Regions from separate parts of the Homo sapiens genome. Here region 2 is linked to region 1. The links are contacts of gene promoters, found by promoter capture Hi-C in human tissues and cell types (Jung and others, 2019). All regions are on one chromosome and are shown on one strand. Each heading gives the region's core, a stretch centred on a gene start or on the middle of the fragment in contact. The rest is flanking DNA. Distances are from core to core; before and after follow the strand shown.

Evidence for each region. Contacts are between HindIII fragments. The study calls those that stand out against the background at their distance.
Region 2: a fragment that was not itself captured here is called in contact with the fragment with the promoter of PPIL2 in region 1 in 2 of the 25 tissues and cell types used here (dorsolateral prefrontal cortex and lymphoblastoid cells).

What each region holds. Positions count from the first base shown.
Region 1 is chr22:21,663,437-21,669,939 of GRCh38, reverse strand. It overlaps PPIL2 (peptidylprolyl isomerase like 2), which reads right to left and starts at 3,928. Exons shown (of 20, transcript NM_014337.4): 1 at 3,809-3,928; 2 at 1-27. The coding sequence starts at 3,840. RefSeq lists enhancers at 3,492-3,541, 3,612-3,851, 3,086-3,996. The HindIII fragment of the contact is 22,549 bases long and covers 280-6,503 here.
Region 2 is chr22:21,772,975-21,779,855 of GRCh38, reverse strand. It overlaps MAPK1 (mitogen-activated protein kinase 1), which reads left to right. Exons shown (of 9, transcript NM_002745.5): 7 at 6,874-6,881. Among named protein-coding and RNA genes, the nearest start is that of YPEL1, 41 kb to the right of the region's middle. The HindIII fragment of the contact is 9,569 bases long and covers 1-6,881 here.

The DNA.
Region 1 (6,503 bases), core at 2,679-5,178:
TGAGTGTATTCAGCACAGGTAATGTACCTGAAGAAGAGAGGAAGATAATGCTACCACCACCACCTTTATAAAGAGGACGAAGTCTTTGGAAGTGAGTAATCTTTGCTTACTCAGCAAATGCTTACTAAATACCTACTATGGGGCGGGCACGGTGGCTAACGCCTGTAATCCCAACACTTTGGGAGCCCGAGGCAGGCGAATCACTAGAGGTCAGAAGTTTAAGACAAGCCTGGCCAACATGGTGAAACCACGTCTCTACTAAAAATACAAAAATTAGCTGGGCATGGTGGTGGGTGCCTGTAATCCCAGCTACTCGGGAGGCTGAAGCAGAGAATTGCTTGATCCCGGGAGGCGGAGGTTGCAGTCAGCCAAGATCACACCACTGTACTCCAGCCTGGGTGACAGAGTGAGACTCTGTCTCAAAAAAACAAACAAACAAAAAAACACCTACTATATGTCAGCCACACAGTGATAAACACAACAGACATGGAGACCAGGCACAGTGGCTCACACCTATAATCCCAACAGTTTGGGAGGCCAAGGCAGGAAGATTGCTTGAGTCCAGGCGTTGGAGAACAGCTGGGGCAACAAAGCGAGAATCTGTCTCTACAAGAAAATTTAAAACTTAGCCAGGTGTGACAGCTCACACCTGTGGTCCCAGCTACTCCAAAGACTAAGGCAGGAAGGCAGGTTGAGGCTGCAGTGAGCTGTGACAGCACCACTACACTCCAGCCTGGGGGACGGGGGAGACTCTGTCTCAAAAACAAACAAAACAAAAAACAAAAAAAACCGGCCGGGCAAGGTGGCTCACGCCTATAATCCCAGCACTTTGGGAGGCCAAGGCGGGCAGATCACGAGGTCAGGAGATGGAGACCATTCTGGCTAACACGGTGAAACCAGTCTCTACTAAAAAAAAAAAAAAAATAGAGGGCCAGGCACGGTGGCTCACACCTGTAATCCCAGCATTTTGGGAGGCCGAGGCGGGCGGATCACCAGGTCAGGAGATGGAGACCATCCTGGCTAACACAGTGAAACCCCGTCTCTACTGAAAATACAAAAAATTAGCCGGGCGTGGTGGCAGGCGCCTGTAGTCCCAGCTACTCGGGAGGCTGAGGCAGGAGAATGGCATGAACCCGGGAGGCGGAGCTTGCAGTGAGCGGAGACCATGCCACCGCACTCCAGCCTGGGCGACAGAGCGAGACTCCGTCTCAAAAAAAAAAAAAAATGGTATCTTATTGCCACAAAGAGTCTGTTTTGTCAATCTTATGATTTCTATTTCTTTATTTTTATTTATTTTATTTATTTTTTTTTTGAGACGGAGTCTTGCTCGCTGCCCAGGCTGGAGTGCAGTTGTGCAATGTCGGCTCACTGCAAGCTCCACCTCGTGAGTTCACGCCATTCTCCTGCCTCAGCCTCCCGAGTAGCTGGTACTACAGGCGCCTGCCACCACGCCCAGCTGATTTTTTTGTGTATTTTTAGTAGAGATGGGGTTTCACCGTGTTAGCCAGGATGGTCTCGATCTCCTGACCTGGTGATCCACCCGCCTCAGCCTCCCAAAGTGCTGGGATTACAGGTGTGAGCCACCGTGCCTGGCCCCTTATGATCTCTATTTCAACATTAATGCTGGTCAGTTGTTGTGTCTAAGCCACAAAAGGGAGGGGGATATAACAAGGCACAGCTGATCTCTATCCCATCATGGCCAGGAACTCAGTTTTAAGGTTTTCCTGGGGTTCTCTTGGCCACAAGGGTGTCTGCTTAGCCAGTGGGGGGACTTAGGGTTTTATTTTTAGTTTACAGGGAGGAGCAGGCTCAAGAGCTGAAAATCAAGAGTTCTGTTTAAGGCATATTAAATTCGAGATGTCTGGCCCGGCACGGTGGCTCACGCCTGTAATCCCAGCACTTTGGGAGGCAGAGGTAGGTCGATCACTCGACGTCAGGAGTTCGAGACCGGCCTGACCAACATAGTGAAAACCTGTCTCTACTAAAAATACAAAAATTAGCATGGGCATGGTGGCAGGCACCTATAATCCCAGCTACTGGGGAGGCTGAGGTGGGAGAATTGCTTGAATGTGGGAAGTAGAGGTTGCAGTGAGCCAAGACGGCACCATTGCACTCCAGCCTGGGCGACAGAGCAAGACTCCATCTCAAAAAAAAAAAAAAAAAAAAAAAAAAAATTTGAGATGTCTTTCAGTCCTCCAGTGGAGATATTAAGTAAGCCACTAACTACACAAGACTGGGGAAAGCAGCTTATAGATGACTGGGAAATTATATCACCCACAGAGAATGTTTATGGAAAAGAAACGTATGAGATCTGAGAGAAGGGAGGAGGGTCCAGAAAGGAGACTGGGAAAAGAAAGACCGCTGAAGTCGATGGAAAACAAAGAGCATGTGAAATCCCAGATACCAAAGAAGGGCTTCAGAAGGAGGGAGTGGTCAACAGTGGGACATACTGTTGAGAAGCCCAACAAAATGAGGACTGAGGCTGCCCAGACGCGGTGGCTCACGCCTGTAATCCCAGGACTTTGGGAGGCCGAGGCAGGTGGATCACCTGAGGTCAGGAGTTCGAGACCAGCCTGACCAACATGGAGAAACCCCTTCTCTACTAAAAATACAAAATTAGCTGGGCATGGTGGCGTATGCCTGTAATCCCAGCTACTCGGGAGGCTGAGGCAGGAAAATCTCTTGAAGCCGGGAAGCGGAGGTTGCGGTGAGCCAAGATCTCACCATTGCACTCTAGCTTGGGCAACAAGAGCGAAACTGCGTCTCAAAAAAAAAAAAAAAAAAAAATGAGGACTGAGGATTGAATACTATATTTAGCAACAAGAAGTCGCTGGGAACCTGAAAAGAGAGGCCGCTGAAGTCGAGAGAAAACAAAGAGCAGGTGAAATCCCAGATACCAAAGGAGGGCTTCAGAAAGAGGGAGTGGTCAACGGTGTGACATACTGTTGAGAAGCCCAACAGTTCTGGGGTCGAAATTCTGACTTGAGTGGTTTCAAGAGACTCAGAAAACAGCATGAAGCCACTAGTCTCTCACTTGTTCTTAAGAGAAACAACACGGCGGCAGCGGGAGGGGAACGTGGGACGTGGGGCACGGGGCACGGGTGGATTTTTAAATTTTATTTATTATTTTTGAGACAGCGTCTCGCTCTGTCGCCCAGGCTGGAGTGCAGTGACACGATCTCGGCTCACCGCAACCTCCGCCTCCCGGGTTCAAGCGATTCCCCTGCCTCAGCCTCCCAAATAGCTAGGATTACAGGCGCCCGTCACCACGCCCCGCTAATTTTTGTATTTTTAGTAGAGACGGGGTTTCACCGTATTAGCCAGGCTGGTCTTGAACTCCTGACCTCAGGTGATCCGCCCGCCTCGGCCTCCCAAAGTGCTGTGATTACAGGTGAGCCACTGCGCCCGACCTGGTTTGCTTTAAATTAGAAGGCTCTGCAGCACGTTTGCAGGCTGATAGGCATGAACCAGAACACAGCGAGACGTGAAGTACGGAAGAGGTAGAGACTACTCATTCAAGGGCGAAACTCGCGAACAGACGGGGGACGGTCCGGGCAGAACCAGAGTAAGGAAAACCGGGCTGCGCTCGAGCCCGCAGCTGACGTCATCGGAGCCGCGGCCCCGGGAGAGCGCGGCGGCCCGAGGGTCATTACCCTGACTGGAGACAGGGCGGCAGCTTCCGGGAGGAAGTGACCTTTGGGCTGTGCTCTGGGGAGTAGCTGAGAGGGAAGGCGAGCGGCGCGCAGTGCGGGACAGGCGGTTCACTGAGGCAGAGTGGAGCGCCGCTCCCGACTGCGGCTCAACTTACATTTTGTCCTTTTGGTGCTGTCGCTTCCCCATGGCGGAGCGGCGGCGGCGACTAGCGAGCACGAAAAAACAACGGCTGACAACTCAGACCATGGAGCCGCAGCCGAGTTCCGTGACCACTTCCGGGTTCCGCGGCGCGCCCCGGAAACGGGCGCCTGGCGTGCTGGGAATTGTGGTTCGCTAGCGCCAGGTGCTCATGCTCGGAAGGATCGCCTGCCCAGTATGGGGTCCTAGCTAGGTGTGCCATCTCCCGCAGGCGTCTTTTCGGGGCCGAGCTCCCTCAGCCTCGAAGCCCCATCTTCTTGAGGGGTCTGTCTGGACCGCCTTGTCTACCCCCCTAGCCACGGCTCAGGGCCATTCCCATACTGGGTTCTCAGGTCTTATTTATTTATTTTCGAGACAGGGTCTCGCTCTGTCGCCCAGGTTGGAGTGCAGTGGCACAATCACAGCTCACTACTGCCTCGACCTCCCAGGCTCAAGCGATTCTCCCACCTCAGCCTCCCGAGTAGCTACGGGCACGCACCACCACACCCGGCTAATTTGTTAATTTTTTGTAGAGACAGGCTCTTACAATGTTGCCCAGGCTGGTCTGGAGCTCTTGAGCTCAAGCAGTCCTCCCGCCTTGGCCTCCCAAAGTGCTGGGATTACAGGCCTGAGGCTTCGCGCCCGGCCAGCGCTCAGGTCTTTTTCAACGTCCTCCTAGAGCTTCAAGTCTCATGAGCCTCCACCCCATCCCTTCCCGCCTCCGTGGCAGATGCCTTCAAAGCCATGTACCACTCTCGTTCTACTCGCTCACTTCTCATTCTCTCTGCATATTCGGTCCCCACCGCCTCCAGGCCCCTCGGAGGCCCAGCAGCAGGTGGCCATCAAGCCTAGAGGTCCAAAGCCCTACCTGATCCCTTCCGTCTCTTCTGCCAGACCCTTCCCTTGGGTCAGATCAGTACCTTGGGCCCCTAGCTACACTCAGGCCCAGGGTAATCTTGCCTAGGCTCCTAATTTTAAATGCCATTTGTATCCCATGACTCCCAGTACTAAGTCACCAGCACTCCAGGTTCCTGATCTCCACTTGGGTAACCACTGATCTGAAATGTAACATGTCTGGATGGGCGTGGTGGCTCACGCCTGTAATCCCAGCACTTTGTGTGTGTGTGTGTGTGTGTGTGTGTGTGTGTGTTTAGTAGAGACGGGGTTTCACCATGTTAGCCAGGATGGTCTCGATCTCCTGACCTCCTGATTCGCCTGCCTTGGCCTTCCAAAGTTCCGGGATTACAGGCGTGAGCCACCACGCCCGGCCAATCCCAGCACTTTGAGAGGCTGAGGCAGGCGGATCACTTGAGGTCAGGAGTTCAAGACTAACCTGGCCAACATGGCAAAACCCCATCTCTACTAAAAATACAAAAAATTAGCCTGGTGTGGTGGCACACACCTGTAATTCCAGCTACTTGGGAGGCCGAGACAGTAGCTTGAACTGGGGAGGCAGAGGTTGCCGTGAGCCAAGATTAGGCCACTGCATCCCAGCCTGGGTGACAGAGTGACTCTGCCTAAAAAAATTAAATTAACATGTCTGGTCAAAGTAGAATTTTCTTTTTTTTTTTCTTTTTTTTTTTGACATGGAGTTTTGCTCTTGTTGCCCAGGCTGGAGTGCAATGGTGTGATCTTGGCTCACTGCAACCTCCGCCTCCCAGGTTCAAGCGATTCTCCTGCCTCAGTCTCCCAGGTAGCTGGGATTATTACAGGCATGCGCCACCACGCCTGGCTAATTTTGTATTTTTAGTAGAGAAGGGGTTTCTCCATGTTGGTCAGGCTGGTCTCGAACTCCCGACCTCAGGTGATCCTCCCGCCTCAGCCCTCCCAAAGTCCTGGGATTACATGCATGAGTCACCGCACCCGGCCATAAAGCAGAATTTTCAATCCTCCCTCTTCTCCCAGTCCCCACTCTGCTGAGCAGTACCACCATCCACCCAGTCACCGAAAGCCAGCTATCTTTGCCTTATTTCATGGCTGGCTTCTTATTCTCTAGGTTTTAACATAAGTGTCACCTCCCCAGAGAGACCTTCCCTAACCACCCACTTCCATGCATCTCCCATAAAGTCTGTCACAATTCCTCACAATTTGTAATCCTGTGTAATTCAGTCTGTGTCCCGGTTTACTGAGCACCCTCCCTGACACAACCACTGCCTCCATGACACACATACAGTGGATGGGATGTAGCTCCTTAAGGGCTGGAATCTTAGGCCCAGCATGGTGGCAGCACCTGTGATTCCAGCTACTTGGGAGGCTGTAGTGGAAGGATCACTTGAGGCCCAGGAGTTTGAGGCTGCAGTAAACTATGATCAAGCCACTGCACTCTAGCCTGGGCAACAGAGTGAGATCCTGTCTCTTTAAAAAAGGGCCGGGGTGTGGGGAGGGGACAGTCGGTGCGGTGGCTCACGCCTGTAATTCCAGCACTTTGGGAGGCTAAGGCGGTTGGATCACCTGAGGTCAGGAGTTCGAGACCAGCCTGGCTAACATGGTGAAGCCCTGTCTCTACTAAAAATACAAAAATTAGCTGGGCGTGGTGGCATGTGCCTGTGATCCCAGCTCCTCAGGAGGCCTGAGGCATGGTGATCGCTTGAACCTGGGAGGCAGAGGTTGCAGTAAGCTGAGATCGCGCCACTGCACTACAGCCTGGGCAACAGAGCACAACTCTGTCTCTA
Region 2 (6,881 bases), core at 1,933-4,432, 110 kb before region 1:
GCAGCAAAGTACAGTGGTTATACCCGGTGCTCTGGAGTCCGCCTCCTGAGTTCAAACTAGGGTTCTGCTACTTGGATTTTTGACTTTGGACAAGTTATTTAAGCTGTTTCATGATTTCCTCAACCCTAAATTGAGACAATTGTAGTTCCCACCTCATAGGATAATTAAAAGAGTTAAGGAATTATTGTTAACTTTAGATTCATTATTAATATTATTAGTATCTAAAGAGCAGAGACAAATCTAAGACCACAGTGTATAAATAAATGAGCAAAGGACAAGAACACACAGTCTACAGGAAATACTGAGATGAGGAAAACTATAGGAGGAGCAGTTTGGGTGACAGCAGTTGAGAATTTGGTTTAGTCTGTGTTTAATTTAAGGCACCTGTTAGGCATTAGAAACAACCTAAGTGCCAAATGTTAATCAAATGGCTGAGTAAATTATGAGACATCTACTTAAAGGAATATTTTAAGGCCGCTAAAAGTGATTTTTTTTACAAAGTTTTGATAGTGGGGGAAAATGCTAATGAACAGTATTTACTAAGGGAAAATAAAACAGCATTTGTCATACATAATATGATTTCAGCCTTCTACAAGAAAATGCATAGAAAAGAATTCAACAACATATGTGAAAAGATAAGCAGTGGTTACCATTGAATGATGGTGCTTGGGGAGCAAGGGAATGTGGGTGAGTCATTCACACAGACCAGAAGGCCGGGTTTGGTGGGTCAACCGTCTGAGGTCTTTTCAGTTCCACAGTTCCACATAACAAGAACTTACTGGCCCAAGAAAGAGCTTTATTGGCTCTGATAACTGAAAAGTTCAGTCACATGTGGATTGATGGGCACAGACACTGTGTCTAGAATCTGGACTTCTTTATCATCCAGTTTTGCCTTGCTCTGGGCTGTCTGTCAGTCAGCCTCTCTTTTCATGATGAGAGTAAGACACTTGACCTGATCACTGCAGCCAGGACTTAGGCTGACTCTCATCACCTCTTTGTGCTCAGCTTGGATGCCATGCCTATCCCTGAGCAGTCACTGTGGCCAAGGGGACTCAGGTGAATATGGCCCAGTGAGTGTCACCATTCCCACAGCACAGCCCAGGAGCGTGGGCAAGCCTGAGCGCTCCCCTATAGCAAACACTGTTGGATGGATTAGAGGGGCAGTGGATGCTGGTGGGCACAACCAGCAGGTGATCCCGAGAGTGAGGGAAGATAAGGAATTCTATTTTCTCCCCCCCACCCCCCCCCTTTTTTTTTTCCTGAAGAGACAGGGTTCTCCCTCTGTTGCCCAGGCTGGAAGGCTGGAGTGCAGTGGCACAATCACAGCTCACTGCAGCCTCGAACTCCTGGGCTCGGGCAAGCACCGTGCCTGGCTAATTTAAATAAATTTTGTAGAGATGGGGTCTCGCTATGTTTCCCAGTCCTGTCTTGAACTCCTGGACTCAAGGGATCCTCCTGCCACTACCACACCCGGACCCCCCCCGCCCCCCGTTTTTTTTTTTTTTGTTTTTTGTTTTTTTTTTTGAGATGGAATCTCACTCTGTCGCCCAGGCTGGAGTGCAGTGGCGAGATCTCGGCTCACTGCAAGCTCTACCTCCCAGGTTCACGCCATTCTCCTGCCTCAGCTTCTGGAGTAGCTGGGACTACAGGCACCCACCGCTATGCCCAGCTAATTTTTTGTATTTTTTAGTAGAGACGGGGTTTCACCGTGTTAGCCAGGATGGTCTTGATCTCCTGACCTCGTGATCTGCCTGCCTCAGCCTCCCAAAGTGCTGGGATTACAGGCGTGAGCCACCACTCCTGGCCCCCACTTTTTTTTTTTAAATTAAAAAACGCAATTTCTATAAGAAGTCTGTCTCCATTTCTCAGATAACCTAATGTTTGAAAACCTTGCAGACTTTATTACACATATAGATACATACATTGATTGTAAATGGAATCATAGGCTATATATTTTATTACCTACACAAACTTGGATTTATTGATCTACAGCTTGGTCACCCTCAGCTCAATATAGCTTTGGGAGGTATTTAACCTGTGGTCTTTTAAATCTTGCAAGAGATTGAAAAGATAGAAGAATGAGATTGTGGCCGGGTGCGGTCACTCATGCCTGTAATCCCAGCACTTTGGGAGGCCGAGGCAGGTGGATCACTTGAGCCCAGGAGTTCGACACCAGCCTGAGCATCATGGCAAAACCCCGTCTCTGCCAAAAATACAAAAATAAGCCTGATGTGGTGACACACACCTGTAATCCCAGCTACTCGGGAGGCTGAAGTAGGAGGATCGCTTGAACCCAGGAGGTAGAGATTGCAGTGATCTGAGATCAGGCCACTGGATTCCATCCTGGGCAACAAAGTGAGACCCTGTCTCAAAAAAAAAAAAAAGAAGAAGAAGAAGAAGAAGAGTGAGATTGTGAGAAGTTGGAGAACACAAACCTTCAGCCAGTGATGGAATAGGGACAAAGAAAAGAAACTAGTGCCATGTGATATCACAGAAGCAGAAGATGGCATTTTGAGAAAGTAGGCATGCACAACAGTGTCCATGCAGCAGAGAGGTCTAGCAAGATATAGATTGGAAAATGTGGGTTGATTTTCCAATGAGGGGCTTGTTGGTGACCATGCAAGAGGAGTTGAAACAGTGAATGGAAGTGAGAAATTTGAAATGGAAAGTGGAGACAGAAACGACTGGTCCACATGAGGGGAAGGGGTTGTGGACCAGGCCACAAGTTGGGGAGAATTGACTTTGAGTAGAGAGAGGATATCTTTCTTGGCAGTGTCAGTAAGGGTGTGTGTGAATCTGGCTAGGAGGGAATTCCGCGAAGATCACTCTTGGGTGCCTCAGTTTTCTCTGTAGCACCCTCAAGAAGATATGCTGAGAGTAATGAGGGTCAGTTAGCAAGAAGGTCATGATTCAAGCCGTGCAAGTTGGGTGAAATCTGAGAGTAGAGGAGGGGACTGACCAAAGCTTTCCAGAAGCTGTTGAGGGCCTTGATGAGGCTGAAAATCTTGAGTTTTTGTAGAACGGTAGTTACTGATAGTGTGCTCCTTAAACACCTGAGATCCCCAGGATCCTTTCAGGGTGTCCACAAGGTTAAAGCTGTTTTAATAATCTTCTTAAAGAGTTACTCACACTGCTCTCTATGTTGCCATCAGCACTTGTGGCACAGGAGCAATGATGAGCAGAGTCCCCAGCACCACAGGCAGGTCAAGGCAGTGGAACTAGAGAGGTTACTGAGCTCTGCACTGCCACACCCCCACTGCTCAAAACCAGTGCCAGTAAAAAGTACTCACCATATTAAATCCATCCTTAATACATGTCTTCACGATGTCTGTGTGACAAACACGTATAGCATTTCTGCTGCATACTGAATGCAGTGGTTTTCTCAGGGAAAAGCACTTATGTAACTATTTGAGCTATGAGCAGAATTAACTGGTTTTTAAATCGTCCCTCAGTTTTGATGAGTATAAAGAGTTCTGAGATCAGAAAGTTTGAGAAGCACTGTCGCACTGGCACACTTTGCACAGTTCAGTCTTTTCTCTGGCCCCGCACAGAAACATGAGTTGAGGATGGAAGTGACAGGTTGCAGCATTGATTCAGGGTCAGAGTTTCACGAGGCAGGCAAGATAGACATGAAGAGGCACTGTGGAGAGCCAGTCAATGGCTTTCCCCAGGTCCAGGACAGGGCAAGAAGGAAAAAAGGATGATGGATTAGAAGAAAGGGTTGGAATCAGGTTGTTACATACTATTTGAAGTTAAAGAGAAGGGCCAGGCTGGCCAGGCGCGGTGGGTCACACCTGTAATCCCAGCACTTTGGGAGGCCAAGGCGGGTGGATCACGAGGCCAGGAGTTTGAGAACACGCTGGCCAACATGGTGAAACCCCCGTCTCTACTAAAAATACAAAAAATTAGCCTGGCGTGGTGGCAGGCACCTGTAATCCCAGCTACTCGGGAGGCTGAGGCAGGAGAATCGCTTGAACCCAGGAGGTGGAGGTTGCAGTGAGCCGAGACAGCGCCACTGCACTCCAGCCTGGGCAACAGAGTGAGACTCCCGTTTCAAAAAAAAAAAGACAAGGGCCAGGCACAGTGGCTCACACCTGTAATCTCAGCACTTTGGGAGGCTTAGGCAGGAGGATCACTTGAGCCCAGGAGTTCAAGACCAGCCTGGGCAACATAGTGACTCCCCATCTCTACAGAAAAATTAATTTAAAAAAATTAGCTGGGTGTGGTAACATGTGCCTGTAGTACCAGCTACTCGAGAGGCTGAGGCAGGAGGATTGCTTGAGCCCAGGAGTTCAAGGCTGCAGTAAGCTATGATCATGCCACTGCACTCCAGCCTGGGCCATAGAACAAAATCCAAACTCTGTTTTAAAAAACACAGAAAGAGAAAATGTAGTATTCTGGAAGGCACTAGGGAAAGTCAGGATTTGTGGTCAGGAGTAATACTAGCCTCAAAGGGACTTCCAGTCTTTTAGGGGAAATAAAACCTGTATCCAAGTAAGCATCCACACAGGCAGCCATGATTCACACCATCTGAGTGTTACCAATGAATGCCCATGTGGCGTGGGAGGAGGGAGTCCGGACATTCTTGACTGTGGGATCCGCACCTGCCAGCTGCTTCCCGGTTCTCTCCTTTTCTCCTTCTGTAGCTATGAATAATGTAGAAATAGCACTTGCAGTAACAGAAGGCTGGAGATCTAGCTACTTTTCAAGTAGCAAATCTTTTTTTAAAAAGCTGTCTTCTTTGAAATTTATGCCTGGAGGTTTAAGGGCCTAGAATTTATTTAACTTTAAGGAACTAATGGATCTGTTTTAGAAATGCTTAAGCTGCAAAACATCCAGTTGGCTTGGAGTGCCTGTCTACTTAATACGAACAAGTTTGAGTAGGACCCTTCTGCCCCCAGTGGTTTAGAAGTAATACTGTTAGAATCTTATTGTGGTCCAGGCCTTCTGGACTTTTCTTAGCACAGACAGTATCTAATTGGGTGAAAAGCCAAATGACTTAATCTAGTTTCAAGAAAGTCCTTGAGAAAATGTCTGTGAGTTCTATGTGGGGAGGGCTGGTTGGGAGCAGGAAGCAAAGTGGGATTTATTACCTATATTATAGACCACAGGAATCTTTTTTTTTTTTTTTTTTTTTTTTTGAGACGGAGTCTCGCTCTGTCGCCCAGGCTGGAGTGCAGTGGCGCAATCTCGGCTCACTGCAAGCTCCGCCTCTCGGGTTCACGCCATTCTCCTGCCTCAGCCTCCGAAGTAGCTGGGACTACAGGCGCCCACCACCATGCCCGGCTAATTTTTTTTGCATTTTTAGTAGAGACGGGGTTTCACCGTTTTAGCCAGGATGGTCTCGATCTCCTGACCTTGTGATCCGCCCGCCTTGGCCTCCCAAAGTGCTGGGATTACAGGCGTGAGCCCCCGTGCCCAGCCAACCACAGGAATCTTAAGATTCGGCAAGGGTTGTGTGTCTTGCACACATATCTACAAGTGTTCCTTGGAAGTAGGATTTGAACCAGAGATTCCTGGGTTCTTGACCATCATGCGTCTTTGTCCTGACCCTTGAGAGGGCCACTTCCTAAACCTAGCCAGTTTGTGTGCCCACAGACCCAGGGTCACAGCTGCAGGCATGACCACCTCTTCTACTGCGCAGACACTCCTTCAGTCACAGCAAAACCTGTCTGGATTCTCTACTCTGAAAAGTTATCTAGGCTATAAAACAAAATATCATTATTCCGTAATTTCCTAAAGTGCACTTGTATGTATTGAAAAGATTATAGATAGAAACATACATAACTTTTAAATGTTTTCTATGCGGAATTTCTCATTATGTCCAGCATGTGGTTTACCATGTTTATCATCTCCTGTTGTCTTAAGGTCAGGGGTTGCAACAAGGGAGGTCAAAATTGGCCGGGGCTGAGCACAAATACACACCCACAGCCCTTCAGTGACCTCAGGCAGCAAGATGCCTCCCACCTCCCCCCAGCACCCAAGCAATCCCTTCGGAAGGTCTACTGATTGTTCTTAAGGGTTAGGAAACATTTTCTTAGTAAATAGTGAAAACTTACTTTTTGAAAGTAGTGGCTAGAAGTGATTCCTTAAACTGATCATGAGTATTAAATTGTACCAAATTTTACGTGATTGTTTATCATTTTAGGAATGGTGAGAAGGGACATACAATTAAATTTTAAAATGTTTTAAGAAGAAATAATGATATTTTATCATTCTACTTTGAGGGCTTAATAGTATGTGCTAATTTGCAGATGGATGAAGTTGACCTTTACCTACAAATAACCTAATAAGAAATGATCATTGCTGGCCGGGCGCGATGGCTCACGCCTGTAATCCCAGCACTTTGGGAGGCTGAGGCAGGCGGATCACGAGGTCAGGAAATCGAGACCATCCTGGCTAACACGGTGAAACCCCATCTCTACTAAAAATACAAAAAATTAGCCGGGTGTGGTGGCGGGCGCCTGTAGTCCCAGCTACTCAGGAGGCTGAGGCAGGAGAATGGCATGAACCCGGGAGGCGGAGCTTGCAGTGAGCCGAGATTGCACCACTGCACTCCAGCCTGGGCGACAGAGCGAGACTCCGTCTCAAAAAAAAAAAAAAAAAAAAAAAAAAGAAATGATCATTGTCAGAAAAGACGCTTCATTAAGTAGTGCCAGTGTTTTTGTTTGCGGTCTGCAATTGTCAGATGGTCGGTCCCTATGTTCACAGTCTCGGGAGGCTTGGAGATATAGTCAGCACCCTTTGTGCTGGCTGCTCTCTCTGTAGTCATGCTTAGCTCAGTTGTTTTGTGGGTAAGTTACTTAAACAGGAAATTGAAGTATTTCTGTGACTACTTCTGCTCTCACTACTGCAAAACCTTTCTCTTTATAGCTCTGGAC